5 separate regions of the Homo sapiens genome follow, and all the other regions are linked to region 3. Evidence: promoter capture Hi-C in 16 types of primary human blood cells and fetal thymus (Javierre and others, 2016). All regions are on one chromosome and are shown on one strand. Each heading gives the region's core, a stretch centred on a gene start or on the middle of the fragment in contact. The rest is flanking DNA. Distances are from core to core; before and after follow the strand shown.

Region 1 (2,949 bases), core at 86-2,585, 71 kb before region 3:
GATCTGGTGAGGATGCTGGGCCCGTGATCTGGGAACTTGCCTGCCCCAAGGCAGCAATCATGGGAGTGGAGTCAAGGAAACACTAAAGAAGTAGACATGATAGGACTTTTTAAGTGGGAATGGCCAGGGCTCTGGCCATTTGGAAGCCTAAAGAGAATGGAATAGCATGAGTTCGGTTTGGGGGAAATTCAGTGGTAAGATGCTTGTTTGTCAGAAACACACTTGAGATGGGAGATCAGTTTGGTGTCATCCATGTCCTCTTGGTAAGTGGAAACTATAATATAAAATCTTTCAGGCCAGGTGCAGTGGCTCACACCTGTAATCCCAGCACTTTGGGAGGCCAAGGTGAGTGGATCACCTGAGGTCAGGAGTTCGAGACCAGCCTGGCCAACATGGCAAAACCCTGTCTCTACTAAAAATACAAAAATTAGCCGGGCATGGTGGCACGCACCTGTAATCCCAGCTACTCAGGAGGTTGAGGCAGGGAGAATCGCTTGCACCCGGGAGGCAAAGGTTGCAGTGAACCAAGATCACGCCATTGCACTCCAGCCTGGGCAACAGAGCGAGACTCTGTCTTAAAAAAAAAAAAAATCAAAAATCTTTTAGTAGATGTTTATAGAGAGAGAAGAGAGGAGACTTGAAGAAGGAATTCTAAGTAAGGGTTAAGGTTGAGTGGAAAAAAGAAGAAGAATCAGAAGGAAGTGGTTTCATAGTAGGATAAATCAAGTGCTGAGATGAAGTCAGTTCACTAACAGACTCAGAGTTCTATTGGATACGGCATGAGGTTCTTGGTGTCACCATCTTAGGATCTGCTCATTTTTGGGGTTTTAAGAACCTGTCTGAACTCCACTTAGCCAACTGAAGCTTGCCTTCAAAGTTAACACAATGTGCTTTCTCCCATATAAACCTTTTAAGCTGTTTCTGATGACTGTTCCCCTTCCTGTTAGAGCTCCACCTCTTTTAATTTAGCCTCCATACCTTTAGAGTAAGGTCTGCAACTTTCTTCCTTAATTGACAGTGGAGATCAATATGTAACCCAGATTGCAAAAATGGTTTGGGAACACTGCATGTTCTCACTCATAGGTGGGAGTTGAACACATGGACACAGGGTGGGAAACATCACACACTGGGGCCTGGCAGGGGATGGGGGGCTGGGGGAGGGATAGCATTAGGAGAAATACCTAATGTAAATGACGAGTTGATGGGTACAGCAAACCAACATGGCACATATATACCTATGTAACAAACCTGCACGTTGTGCACATGTACCCTAGAACTTAAAGTATAATTTTAAAAAAATTTTTTAATAGTTTGGGAAGAAATTGTGGGCATGTCATTTGCTTGAACAGATTTTGTTCCCCAGCCAGAGGACCAGAGAAGAGTTTGTCATGGCTACAGTGGAGGAATCAAACTCAGAATAGCATGTGAAAGGCACATTCCACACAGAAACTTCGGCCCGTGCATCAGCACTGCAGACAGGGGGAGAGGAAATGAATTCTCAGCCAGTAGATTCCCAGGCATCACCTTGAGGCAGATATGGCATATTCTTGGCCATAGTCTCTACTTCTCTAACTGGGCAAAGTGTCTAATCAACTATAACCCAAAATATCTTCCCACATGGCATAAGTGTCGAATTCATACATAGATCAGAGGGAGAAATGAAATTGTGGTTGTCTTAAAAGTTTACACAGTTTAGGGATCTCCATCATGAAAAATGATCTAAATAAATGAAATGGTATTTTTACTCTTTATCCTACAAGCCCTATACAAACTAAGTCCATAAATATCCTATTTGATGCTTAAACCAAAAGCTTTATAAAGAGAATTTCACTATGTGAAATAATGACTTGAAGAAATCCTATTGTGGATGCTTTTGTTAAGTTGCTAAACCTTTTTTAAAAAGTAGATAATCATCCAAGATATCTTCTTTGTGACTCTTAAGTTTTAGTGTATTTCAAATGTGGATAGTTTTTGACTAGGAGGTTTGTTCAAACGTTCTTCTCGACCACTAGGGGGTGCTCTAAAGGTTAGTGATGTCTAAATGATTGACCAATCAATTAAAACACCGTGCCCAGTTAGCAATCATCTCCACTGAGAGATGCCTGCTTTACCAGGCTAAAAAAATGATCTTTATCATGGCATAGAGACTATAAAAGCTGTGTCCTTTTATTTTCATTAACCTAATTAGAAGTCAAGCTAATTGTAGGACTTCATAGAACTGGCATCGGGAATAGCATGCAACTGTTAAAAAAATCATGGTCTTGATGACTAATTATATCAGGAAATAATATGCAATATAAATGAAAAGAGAAGTGTATGTTTTTTACTTTTTCCTTTCTGTTTTTAAAACATGCTATAAAATGTTAAGTATAATTAGGACACAAAGGAAAAATTAAATCTAGTTAACATTACCTTGAAAACTTCTTATTTGCCCTGAAATCTCCAGTTCTTTGGAAGCTAAAAGCTTGAGACTTCTATATCTGGTTGTCAGGATTAGGGTGATTTTATTTGAATTTTCTTTATTTTCTTCTCAATTTTCTATCTATTTACTTTGTAATTACATTTGAACTATGGATATGTAATTAGTTTTATAAATAGAAAAATCAAAGCTTTATAAAGGAAAATATAGCATCAGCAGACCTGATTGTCCTACTTAACTCTTCCACAAACTGTTTTAACTATGGGCAAGGTACTTCACTTCTTTGCCCTTTGCTTCTGTAAAATGGTTGGGTGAAACGAATCTTGGCAGTTTGTTCCAGCTCTTCTAAAGTTCCATTTTAAATTTTACCAGGAGACAAAAATGGTTCCTATTATGTTCACTCTTGAAGCATTTATTAACCCTCACAATTGGCCAGGCACTGTGCTTGGTGCTATTAAAGATATCTCACTTAGTATCTGGGCTCTGCCTTCAAGGGTTTCCGGTCCCCCATGGAAAAGAAGACCAAGTGC
Region 2 (2,711 bases), core at 90-2,589, 90 kb before region 3:
TGGCACAATTATGGTTCTCTGCAGACTCGACTGCCTAGGCTCAAGTGATCCTCCTACCTCAGTCTCCCAAGTAGGTGGGACTGCAGGTGTGCACCACTATGTCAGGGTAATTTTTTATTTTTTTTTTTGTAGAGATGGAGTCTCACTTTGTTGCGCAGGCTGGTCTCAAACTCCTGGGCTCAAGCGATCCTCTCGCTTTGGCCTCCCAAAGTGTTGGGATTGCACAGGTGTGAGCCACTGTGTCTGGCTGAAATAGCATTTTTAATAGCAATTTGTTTCACGGATAAGATTGTATATACAGTTATATGACAAGAAATAATGAGCATGAGCAACAAGTAATAAACAGAAAGCAAAAGAAGGACTTTTTTCCTTTCTTTCCTTTTTTTTTTCTTTTTTCTTTTTTCTATTTGTTTTTTGAGACAGAGTCTCGCTTTGTCACCCAGCCTGGAGTGCAGTGATATTCGCTCACTGCAACCTCCACCTCCCAGGTTCAAGCAATTCTCCTGCCTCAGCCTCCCGAGCAGCTGGAATTACAGGTGCCCACTACCGCGCCTGGCTGATTTTTGTATTTTTAGTAAGACGGAGTTTCTCCATGTTGGCCAGGCTGGTCTCAAACTTCTGATCTCAAGTGATCTGCCCACCTTGGCTTCCCAAAGTGCTGGAATTACAGGCATGAGCTGCCACGCCCAGCCTTTCTTTTCTGTTTTAAAATCAGCTTCCTGTCACTGTGGTCTGGTGAAAGCCTAAAACCCAGGATCCTGGGTTATGCTTTTGTCTGGGGACCAGGCAGGACAGGTGACCAGTAACTATGGGCGTCAGCGTCCTCACCTCTAAAGCGGTTCAACTTGAAGATCTCAGAGGCTCTGCACAGCCCTGGAGTCCAGCAGTTCTGAAGTTTTGGTTTATGGATTGTGAATTTATCATTCACATTCAGCAGGAGACAGGAGTCTCTCCCTCTGGACTCTCAGGAGTGAGTGGAGTTGTGTCAGTTGCAGTGCACATGTTTTTGTCAGCACTCTCCCTGAATGACCTCCACCTGCTGTCATCCAGTTGAGCCTTGGCTGCTTCCCAAGCCCATGTCTTACTGTTGCCTTCCTGGTCAGCGTCTAGAGATGGGAAATAGCCATGTAAGATCTGAACGGTGTAGCTTGGTGTCCAGTTCAGGAAAATTATCGACTCAACTAATTAATCTCTGGGTGCTGAGGAAGGGAAGTGCAATTACTGTGAGATTCTTGATAATCCTGAAAATGTCAGCACCAACCACCTCATTTCCTTTTTACTGAAGGACTCCTGCCTAGTAGATCAGGGACTTTCATTGACAATTTTTTTTTTTTTTTGAGACGGAGTCTGGCTCTGTCGCCCAGGCTGGAGTGCAGTGGCACAATCTCAGCTCACTGCAAGCTCCGCCTCCCTGGTTCACGCCATTCTCCTGCCTCAGCCTTCCGAGTAGCTGGGACTATAGGCACCCGCCACCACGCCCAGCTAATTTTTTGTATTTTTTTTTTTTTTAGTAGAGATGGGGGGTTTCAACGTGTTACCCAGGATGGTCTCGATCTCCTGACCTTGTCATCCTCCCGTCTCGGCCTCCCAACGTGCTGGGATTACAGGCTTGAGCCACCGCGCCTGGCCTATTGACAATTTATTGAATTGCCACTACGATAAATGTTTTAATCCTTATATTAGATCATACTAAATCAGCAATGACTGTTACATGTGATTTAGATGAATGGGTTTCATCAAATCATGGTGAAAAAATGTATTTGAAACCTATTATGTAAAAAAATGTATTTGAAATCCGGTCTGTCTGTCTTGTGGGTAGGCGGGCAGGATGCCAATATTGTGCGGGGATTGCTAATGCATGGGACAGTTATCCCTGAAGAGCAGAGATTAAAGATATCAGCCTGAACTAGGGCTTCTGAGATACAATGGGAATAAGATAAGAATAGGAATAAAGATCATGCAGCACGATCTTTAGGAATGGACAGTGCACTTGTCATTTGAATCAAGTATCCTTAATCCATGACATCCGGTGCCTGGCTGGATGTTAGACTTTTGATCTGTTGTCTAGTGGTAGCTTATCTTATAAATGTCTCAAGGTGGGCCAGCTGCAAAAGTCACCTTGCCTTTAGGTAGCAACATCCTCAGGTACTCAGTAGGATGGAACTGGAAAGCCAACTGAGGCAGGCACACTTACCTTCCATTCATTGTGTTGAAACTAGAACTCTCATCATGCTGGTGAGAGTGTAGATTGGTCAGTCTTATTGTAGACGGTAAGTTGGCTGTGTATCAGAAGTCTTCAAAATTAGCACTTTGGCCCAAGGAATTCCATTTGCAGGAAGTTATCTTAAGAAACTGAATAATGATAATGACAATACAGCTTAAGTTTATTGAATGTGCCAGGCACCAATCTAAGTGCTTTACATGCATTTGTTCATTTAGGCCTCCTAATGACTCATGTGGCAGATGCTTTAACCTTCTCTTTGTCAGAAGAGGAAACTGAGGTAGGGAGAGGCTGGGTAGGTAACTTGCTCAGGGTCTTAGGTTAGCTTGCAGAGCTGTTATTGAATCCAGGCAGCTTGCTTGAGAGCTAGACCCTTAATTACTCTGTTTTGAAGATTTGCATGAAGTGTATTCACTCCAGTGTTATTCACTGTGGTGAAAAAGGGGAGATGCCTCATCCTTCTAATGGCAGGGGAATTAATACCTTGTGA
Region 3 (2,700 bases), core at 198-2,697:
CCGGACCCTCCTTCTCCCGGTCCTGGTTTCTGTTTCATGGTATTCATCCTCCTCTGGCCTCTTCATGGCATCCTCCAGCTGCCACTCTGGCTGCTTCTCACCCTACACCAGGGGTCAGGAGCCATGAAAGTCCGTGAGTGATACCAGCCAGGTGGGAGGTGATAGGGAGTGGTGGGGCATGTGACTGACTGGGCATCTGGTGCCCCATGAAAAGCAGAAGCCCCTGCTCAACTCCAGGCCGTTTCTATGAGAGGAGTGCAGGCCCAGTGTTCCCGAGTATCTCATTTTCCACGAGAAGTTGGAAAACCTGACTTTTCATGTGATGTGACATTTCCTAGCGTTTAAATATTTGAGAAGTAATTAAAATTATTTCAAAACACACTAGGTAGGCCAAATAAAATGTGTCTGAGACCTAGGGCTGGTATCAGTTCTAGTCTGTCTCTGTCACTTTCCACAATCTAACCTGCCCTCCCAGCTTCAGTGGTTACTCAAATTTCAATGTCTCTGAGCGTTAGATGGCCAGCCCTGGCCTGCACCCCAGATTTACCCTAGAATTCATCTGCATGTGGGTGCCCACACACCTCCAATGCAAAGCGGAGCCCATCAGCCTCCCAGATTTGGCAGACTGTAGGATCTCAGTAAGTGTGAGCTATTTTTGTCTTTGTTCCACTAACAAAAATACTACTACTACTAACACTGCTACTAATACTCATGCTACAAAGAATAATCTCTTGCCCCTCTTTTGTTCCATTTCTGTTACTCAACACCACTGCCCCATCAGGCAGCCAGGGAGGACCCTGTGATCTTGGACTCTTCACTCCCATTCCCGGCAGTTAGTGGATTGTGTTTATTCTTCCACGGCCCTCTAGAATGTGCTTCCAACTCTTCCTTCCAATTAACTAGAAACTCTCCTAGTTGCTGAACTTGTCATGTGTTCTCAGCTATTGTCTCAGCCTCTAACTGCTCACCACCAGGCGCTACCTCTGCATTTAAGATTTATTCATCACGCTGTGGCTAGTGTCATCCCCTAAATTGCCGTGCAGCTCTCATCACTCACCTCGGATGGATCCCACCGGCTGCCCCCGCAGTTCCTCAGCCATCCCTGCATGCCAGCTGTACCAGGCACTTGTATGCCTCTGCATTTGTGCTGGCTGTGTCCTCAGGCGCATTTTCTTCCTTCATGCCTACTATGTTAATTCTGTTCGTCCTCATCTCTGGTCAAATGCCACCTCTTCCACGAGGCTGTCACTTGCCTTCCCACCACCAGCCCCAGTGTTATTTGCCCCGTGCCTCTTCCAAGCTCTCACAGCACTTGATCTAAGTCTCTTTTCATTTCATCCGGCTGTGTATTATGAAGTTTGCTTGATTCTTCCCCCTTCTCTTGATTAGCTCCTGGATGAAGAGACACTGTCTTTGTCATCTGCGTATCCCCAAGAAACCCCTAGTGTGCTGCCTTACATGTAGTAGACACCTTGAAAACCTTTGTCAATTGAATCAAAGTTTGTTTGTGTGTGTGTGTGTTTTGTTTTTTCTTTTGGTTTGTTTTTTTTGTAAGTTGAGGATGGCTGCATCTAAAGGGCTCAGGCCAAGGTATTAAAAACAAAACTGCTTGGTTATTCAAAAGGATTTATCAGAACCCCAAGAGGCTAAGTATCAAGCTAGTGAAAGGGTTATTCTGCCTGTCCCCAATTCCAAGGGTGCAGTTTTTAGAGGACGGACGGTCGTGTTTGGTCTACTTGTCGTCAGGCAAGGCCTCTTCCACAGTGCCCCATGGAAGCTTGGGTTCAGTGCCAGGGGCAGGGAGGAATGGGCAAGCCTCTTGGACACTGGGGCTTCAGCCACCCTGGCATATAGAGTCCTGCACTGTTTGTCTTGCCCAGAAGAACAGGCTGTACCCACCCATTCACAAGATGTCCTCTCTCACATCATTGGCAGGCCTGGGAATTTCCCACAGGCCATCTGGGTGTGTTCTGCCGTCCTGTCTCCCAAGTTTTTTGCAGCATTGTTTCTTGTTAATTAGCTCTTAGAATAGCAACTGCTCTTCCATCAGGAATTGTATCCCGTTGACTTTCCTAAGGCAAGAATCTACTCATTTCTTTTTTGTAAGCATTTTCTCCCTTCCTGCCTGCATTGCACAGGCTTACTTAGTGAGAGCCCAAGCAGTGTGAACTAACTCCTAGCTCTTACAGAACTGAGTTACTTATAATATGCATCTCCTGAATCCTGGGTGACCACTGTAAGTGCCTGAAGTGGCAGCTGCTCTGACTGGGCCTGTGCAGCTCTGAATGCTGCATTTACTTTTGGGTCCTGCCTCCAACCCAGAACCACCTGTGGCCTTTAATTCCTGTTACTAGGAGAGAGGAGAAGCGATTAAACCCTGTCAGTATATTCATTTATTAGCTGCCCTTTGAAGCTTTTTTGAAAGCATTTTACAAGGTATATCCCGTCAGGTTGCTTAGGAACTTTTGCAGCCTCCTTCTTCAACATTATCATTTTCATTTGAATCAACACTGGCAGCTTGACACCTCTGGACACCTGGCATGGCAGTGGGAGGTACCTCCAAACACTGTCTTTCCGTGTCTGCACCTTCAACAAGATTTTCTCTGTAAATTCAGCTCCAAAACAATTTTTATAAACACAGCATTACTTTTGTGTTGTTCACAAATCAGATTTGGAAAGAGGTGCTTGGGGACTGTCATG
Region 4 (2,954 bases), core at 294-2,793, 84 kb after region 3:
CAATCAATAAGGTGCATTGATACATCACTGGGCTAGAGCAGACATGGCAGAAAATGCAACAAGACAGAGAAAACAGTATTACCTAGAAATCTTCGCAGGAGGAACACTGTATGTGTTAGTAGAAGAATTTCGATGAGTCATTTGGAGTAGGATGGAGAGAGGAAAAAGAGGATGAGAGACACCCTCCCTCTCCAAAAGCCATGCTGTGGTAATAACAGGTGGTTTGATAGACTGGTTTCTAAGGAGAACGGGTTGCCTTAACTTGGAAGATTATGCTTGGGCTAAATGTGTTTTCTTGGGTCAGAGCTGGAGTGAAATTTTTCTTGAAGGAAAAGGTAGAAAGTTTGAAATGGCCTCATTGACTCTCTTTTGTAATCATTTCCCCATGCAGCTTGCCTAACCCCTGAATTTCTGCCCATCATTTGCTAAACAAAATGATGTCTGTGTCACTTGGCTTCTGGGCTTTTGGTATATGTATCCCACATCAGGGCAATAGGGCTCTGCTTCTTTGTGAAGGCTTGGGAAGAGCCTTAGACAACATTGTGGGGTATATTTGACAATAAAAGCCAGTTGCTGCAGATCCCAGTGCACTCCCTACACTCAGACCGCATCAGATGCCTTTCTCCCGCATTCTAATGCAAAAATGACCAAAATAGTCTTCCTCTAAACATTGGGTACCACTGGGGGATTAAGATGTTTTACCACTAAAATTGAATAATGTTAACCTTACCTAATTCACACACACATAAACTTACCCCATGTCTGATACAGACTCCAGGGGTTGGGGTCAGTGATGGGAGATGTTTGGTTATGGGATTAGATAGCAGGTGGCAGGGGAGGGGAGGGGTCTGGGGATGGATGTAAGAATCAGGGATGTTTGGTAGCAAACAGTGGTTTTACAGGTTAATACAATTGTTTAAACATGACTGAGTGAAATGGCACTCTCTGATGGGCCATTTTGCATTGTCATGCTTTGTTCTTATAGATGCCATCCTGCAAGCTTGAATGCCCTTTTTCTCCACCAGTGACCCCTGCCTCACAGAACTAATTTCTGTTCATCTCTCAAACTCCTGGCCAGGTGTCACCTTCCCTCAGTTATTCTTCACTGGCCCCAAGTTGGGTGAGGTGCCTGCCACCCCTCTGTGTGCTAGTGGCAGTGGCACTGTTGCATTTTCCTGGGGTAGCTCTGATCACACTGTACTGTGATTATTTATCTGCCCGTCTCTCTTCTCAAGGCAAGAACTGGATCTTAGTCTTCTCTCTATCCCTAAGGATTTCACAAAAATATGCCTACTGATAGGAGATGCTTATTGAATGAATGAAAAAATGAATGGGTGAGGTTCTAGGACGGTCTGAACTCTAAAACCTGCCGAAGCTCCATGAGCACAAATAAACCGGAGTCCTACAAGACCTCTTGCCACACACAAACACACACATGAATTAATGTGTAATCTTTGCTCCATTTAAAATCTTTTCATCTTGAATCCCTCTTATAGTTTTGTTCCTCAGCATTGGCAAAATGTTGGCATAATGCTTAAAGAACATGAGTTCTGGAGTCAGACAGTCTGGGTTGGAGGCTAATCTTTACTTCTTGCTGTGACACTGGGCCAGTGACTTAACTTCTTTATGCCATTTTCTTATCTGCAAAATGAAGGTAATACTAGTGTCTGTCTCATGAGGTTGTTCCTATATTTATATTCATGGAAAAACTTACAAATGGCTCATATTTATTTTAGCAGAGAGTTTTTGACATGGACATATGTGCTCATGATTCTGATATTGTATACATATATTATAGCCTAATGAATTAATTAGGTGTTTCACAAGGGACACCATAACACTTAGAGGCTCTGTCATTTGAATAAATTTGAGCCCCATTGATGTAAAACATGCAGAAAATCTCAAGTCACTAAATATATGTTCAGTCTCTATTCTGTTTCTTGGCAGCTTTATGACCTCAAGCAAGTCCCCTAATTTTTAATCTCAAATTTTTAATCTGTAAAATGAGGCTACTTATATTTGCGTAACTTCTAGGATTTTTCAGTGCTCAAATAAAATATTACAAAATATGGAGCCATATGATATAAAAGCTTATTATTATTGCCACTAGTATTTTCTCTAATCAAAATCTAACAATTCAAGGTTTTCCCTAATCCTTTAGGGCTCTATGAAAACACATTATATTGTGTTCACAAGTATCCAATTCTCCTCTCCTGGACACAGGAAGACTGTACTGCTTTGCCTCCCTCTGTGGGGCCACCTGACTTGTAGCTAATGAAATGTAAAGCAGTGCAAAACCTAGGCATGATTCTCCAGCCCCCCATCCCCTAGCACAGCACCTAAGTCGACGTGCTCCAGACAGCACAGCTACAGGTTAGTAACCAAGCCATTCTAACTTGGTAGTAGGTAAGATGTGAGGAGCCCTTCTGAGTTACTTTATTTGCATTTCAATTAAAACCTCTGAAGATAAAATGTCATAATACAAATAAATGATTCAAGTGATTAAATGTCAGCTCCTATAACTGCAAACCCACTGGGGAATATTTTTTAAGTAGAAAATGTCTGTTACTCACTTCAATCACATTTAGTGTGTGTCTGCTTACTTTCGTGTAGAGCCAATTCTGGGTGCTTAGCCAGAATACTAAATGACCACATGAGCTAACATTAGGGTTGCCAGATTGAGGGAAAAAAATAAAGGACATCCAGTTTAATTTGAATTTCAGATAAATAATGAACATCTTTTTAAATATAAATGTGTCCTATGCAATATTTGGGACATATTTGTACTAAAAGAATTATCGGTGGTTTACCTCAAAGTCAAACTTAACATGATGCCCATGAAATATTTGAGACTTACTTATACATTGTTTTTCTGAGGTTCAAATTTAACTGAGTGCTCACTGTTTCATCTGGCAACTCCAGCTACATGGTGCCTTAGTCAATGGTGCTTTTAC
Region 5 (2,714 bases), core at 141-2,640, 110 kb before region 3:
TGGTGTTAATAAAGGGCACAGTGCAGGGTGTGTGGAAGATTTTAGTGTCAGTTCTAGCACAAGCTAGCTAAATGTGTCTCGGGGTACATTAACTTCTCTAGGCCCCAATTTCCTAGGTATTCATTCTTCTTCTAGACAATAGACAGTTGAATTAAAAAATCCTTTCTATCGACCAGGTGCAATGGCTCACACCTGTAATCCCAGCAGTTTGGGAGGCCGAGGCAGGAGGATCACTTGAGCCCGTGAGTTTGAGACCAGCCTAGCAACACAGCAAGACCCTGTCTCTTAAAAAAAAAAATCCTTTCTATTCCTAGAACTCTAGGGTAGTGTGAAGTAAGGGTTTTCACAGTTACACTAGGTAAGTTACTACCTGTCGGGTACTTCTCTAATTATGCTGTGCTTATTAACTTATCAAGTCCTCAAATGGCCCTATGAGGAACATATCCTTTATGTTCTATAGATGAGGAAACTGAAGCATTGGATGTTAAACAACTTGCCCAGGGCCACCGAGCTTATAAGGGAAGAAGCCGTCTGCACACCCCAGGCTCCAGATTCCACAGCCTCAACCACCAAACTCTCTTGTCTGTCGTCATATAGAAGGCTGTTCTGTTTTCTCAGTGTAGCCCCCTTAAAGATAAGCCACAGTAAACCACAGTGCTTTTGATATTAGGCAAATTAAACTTGAGTTCAATCGTATGTTACACTGAATCAAAGTTATATTCGCTGTGCATTTTACGCCAGTAATTCTGGAAACTAAAAAGTGCCATGCCAGAAATTTTCTCTGATTTAATTTGCTTACAATCATTTTAAAAATGAGGAGCTGTGATCCACGCTTTTGCCCCAGGTTGGAATATTTTAGAAGTACTTTCAAATATATATTTCTGCTGCTGGGATATAAAACCATAAATTCGAGCAGATAGAACAAAAGACCAAAGAGGATGATGTATTTACTGTTTTTGAGTTAAAGTTACAACAGTTTACAGAATCACAGCAACCGAGAATAGGAGTTCTCAGAGACATACTCCTCATCCACAGAAGCCTCACATGACCAACACAAGTTTCAGTCCAGTGCAACTTTTTGCAAATGAAAACTTACCCTGGGGTTGTTTGGTGACTCCTAGTCACATGTGCTTTCTAAAGTTCTCAAAACAAGCATGGGGTGACAGTCCAGTTTTATGAAATATAATTTTAGTTCAGAAGAGATGGGATTTTAGAATAGTTAATCTTCATTATATTTGACATAATTACTCTGCACCCTGTGGATGGGGTGGCTTTTCAAAACCCACTTCTGGTGAGGCAGACCAGGGCTCCAGGCCAGCACCCCTCTGGAGATTGGAATGTGAATTTCCGTGCTGGGACACAGAGCCAGCTTCCTATTTATTTAGAGCCATTGGGCACCTAAGGAGCCAAACAGAAGTTGTGATGCAAGTTTTGGCTGCAGAGCATGTTAGGGTTGCCTGACGTGTCTAACTAAAACATGATCTGAGAGATTTCTCAAAGCCCTGGTTGATTTAAGCACCATAGTATTCAATAGGGTTTTTTTTTAGTCCTTTTAACTCAGTCCTAAGTAAACAGGAGGCGGTGCAAACAATGAGGAAGTTCCCTCTGCATTCCGATGGTGAAGTGGGGTTGGAGTCTGTAGGCAAGTGAAGAGCGTGTGGGAGAGCTGTTTCCTTTTGCTCATGGCAGCAGTCTAGAACATGGTGACAGTGAAAGTCATTGGAAGCCATGGGGGCCCATTTTCTTTATGTGACCAAATGTCTTGCAAAGTCCCAGGTGTGTGTGTAGGTGCATGAGTGTGTATGTTTGTTTTCTAAACGAAGCACACGTGCAAAATAATGTAAAAGGGCAGAGTGAAGTTTGTCCATGTCCCTGTATGAAAGTGCATGGGAAGTGCCTGGGGCAGAAGTGAAAGAGACACGGCCCCAGGTCGTGAGAGAAGACATTGAGGTGCACTCCCGGCCTGCTGTGGGAACAGTGGGTTAGCATGTCACCGGTGCACTCCCAGGCTGCTGTGGCAACAGTGGGTTAGCATGTCACCCGGCTTTAGGATTTGGGGGAGTTTGCTCAGGCTCTGAGGCAGGTAGGTTAAGGCTAATTTAACTCTTAATGGTTGGAAGGAAAGAGGGAAGGGCCGTTTAGGAAGGTGAAAAGGCAGGAGTGAAGGTGGCAAGAAATGATTGGCATGCAGTTTTTTCCTAAATCCTCCTCTGGTTATAAGGAATCAACTGGAAAATTGCAGTGGCAATAGCTGTTAAGAAAAAAAATAGGATTCAGTTGATGAAATATTAAACATGCAAGTGGGCTGGTCTTTTAACCAATCTTTGTAGTATTAAGGGATTAAAAAGTTAATTCTTGGTAATTAGATCCCCAGGGAGAACTTAATTTGCATCTATACATGATAAGTGTTTACTATTAATAATTCAAGACAAGTTTTGCTTTGGCCGGTATTGAGCTGGGTCTCAGGCTGGTGATAACAGAGGCTGGATAGAGAGTGATACCATTAGCCTAATTTTGTCATCTGCAAGCAAAGGAATGTTAAAATCTGTTCACTTCGTGGTTTCTAAATGACTTCTAGAAGTATCATGAGTGGAAGAGGGCAGTGTAGTGTAGTAACTTTTGTTCTTCCGCAGTCCTTAGAACCTGTCAGGATTATTGGTTATGACACTGTTCCCACAGGGTGGACAACAGGGGCATTTTTATCTTCTTGAGAC

What was found. The method cuts DNA at HindIII sites, captures the fragments that hold promoters and counts their contacts. A CHiCAGO score of 5 or more calls a contact.
Region 1: a contact is called between a fragment that was not itself captured here and the fragment with the promoter of PRKCH-AS2 in region 3, in 13 of 17 cell types (activated CD4 T cells, neutrophils, M1 macrophages and 10 more). The highest score is 20.1, in activated CD4 T cells.
Region 2: a contact is called between a fragment that was not itself captured here and the fragment with the promoter of PRKCH-AS2 in region 3, in 7 of 17 cell types (neutrophils, activated CD4 T cells, total CD4 T cells and 4 more). The highest score is 19.7, in neutrophils.
Region 4: a contact is called between a fragment that was not itself captured here and the fragment with the promoter of PRKCH-AS2 in region 3, in 10 of 17 cell types (neutrophils, activated CD4 T cells, non-activated CD4 T cells and 7 more). The highest score is 24.1, in neutrophils.
Region 5: a fragment that was not itself captured here is called in contact with the fragment with the promoter of PRKCH-AS2 in region 3 in 2 of 17 cell types (neutrophils and activated CD4 T cells); the score reaches 7.8 in neutrophils.

The regions. Positions count from the first base shown.
Region 1 is chr14:61,473,417-61,476,365 of GRCh38, forward strand. The region is part of intron 9 of PRKCH (protein kinase C eta); the gene reads left to right. Among named protein-coding and RNA genes, the nearest start is that of PRKCH-AS2, 71 kb to the right of the region's middle. The HindIII fragment of the contact is 947 bases long and covers 863-1,809 here.
Region 2 is chr14:61,453,711-61,456,421 of GRCh38, forward strand. All of the region lies in intron 7 of PRKCH (protein kinase C eta), which reads left to right. Among named protein-coding and RNA genes, the nearest start is that of PRKCH-AS2, 90 kb to the right of the region's middle. RefSeq lists an enhancer at 1,054-1,223. The HindIII fragment of the contact is 5,606 bases long and covers 1-2,711 here.
Region 3 is chr14:61,544,037-61,546,736 of GRCh38, forward strand. It overlaps PRKCH-AS2 (PRKCH antisense RNA 2), which reads right to left and starts at 1,448. Exons shown (of 3, transcript NR_188139.1): 1 at 1,058-1,448. All of the region lies in intron 12 of PRKCH (protein kinase C eta), which reads left to right. The HindIII fragment of the contact is 1,799 bases long and covers 1-1,775 here.
Region 4 is chr14:61,628,219-61,631,172 of GRCh38, forward strand. All of the region lies in intron 1 of LINC03033 (long intergenic non-protein coding RNA 3033), which reads left to right. Among named protein-coding and RNA genes, the nearest start is that of LINC01303, 59 kb to the left of the region's middle. The HindIII fragment of the contact is 1,090 bases long and covers 999-2,088 here.
Region 5 is chr14:61,437,645-61,440,358 of GRCh38, forward strand. All of the region lies in intron 2 of PRKCH (protein kinase C eta), which reads left to right. Among named protein-coding and RNA genes, the nearest start is that of PRKCH-AS2, 110 kb to the right of the region's middle. RefSeq lists an enhancer at 1,629-1,998. The HindIII fragment of the contact is 9,604 bases long and covers 1-2,714 here.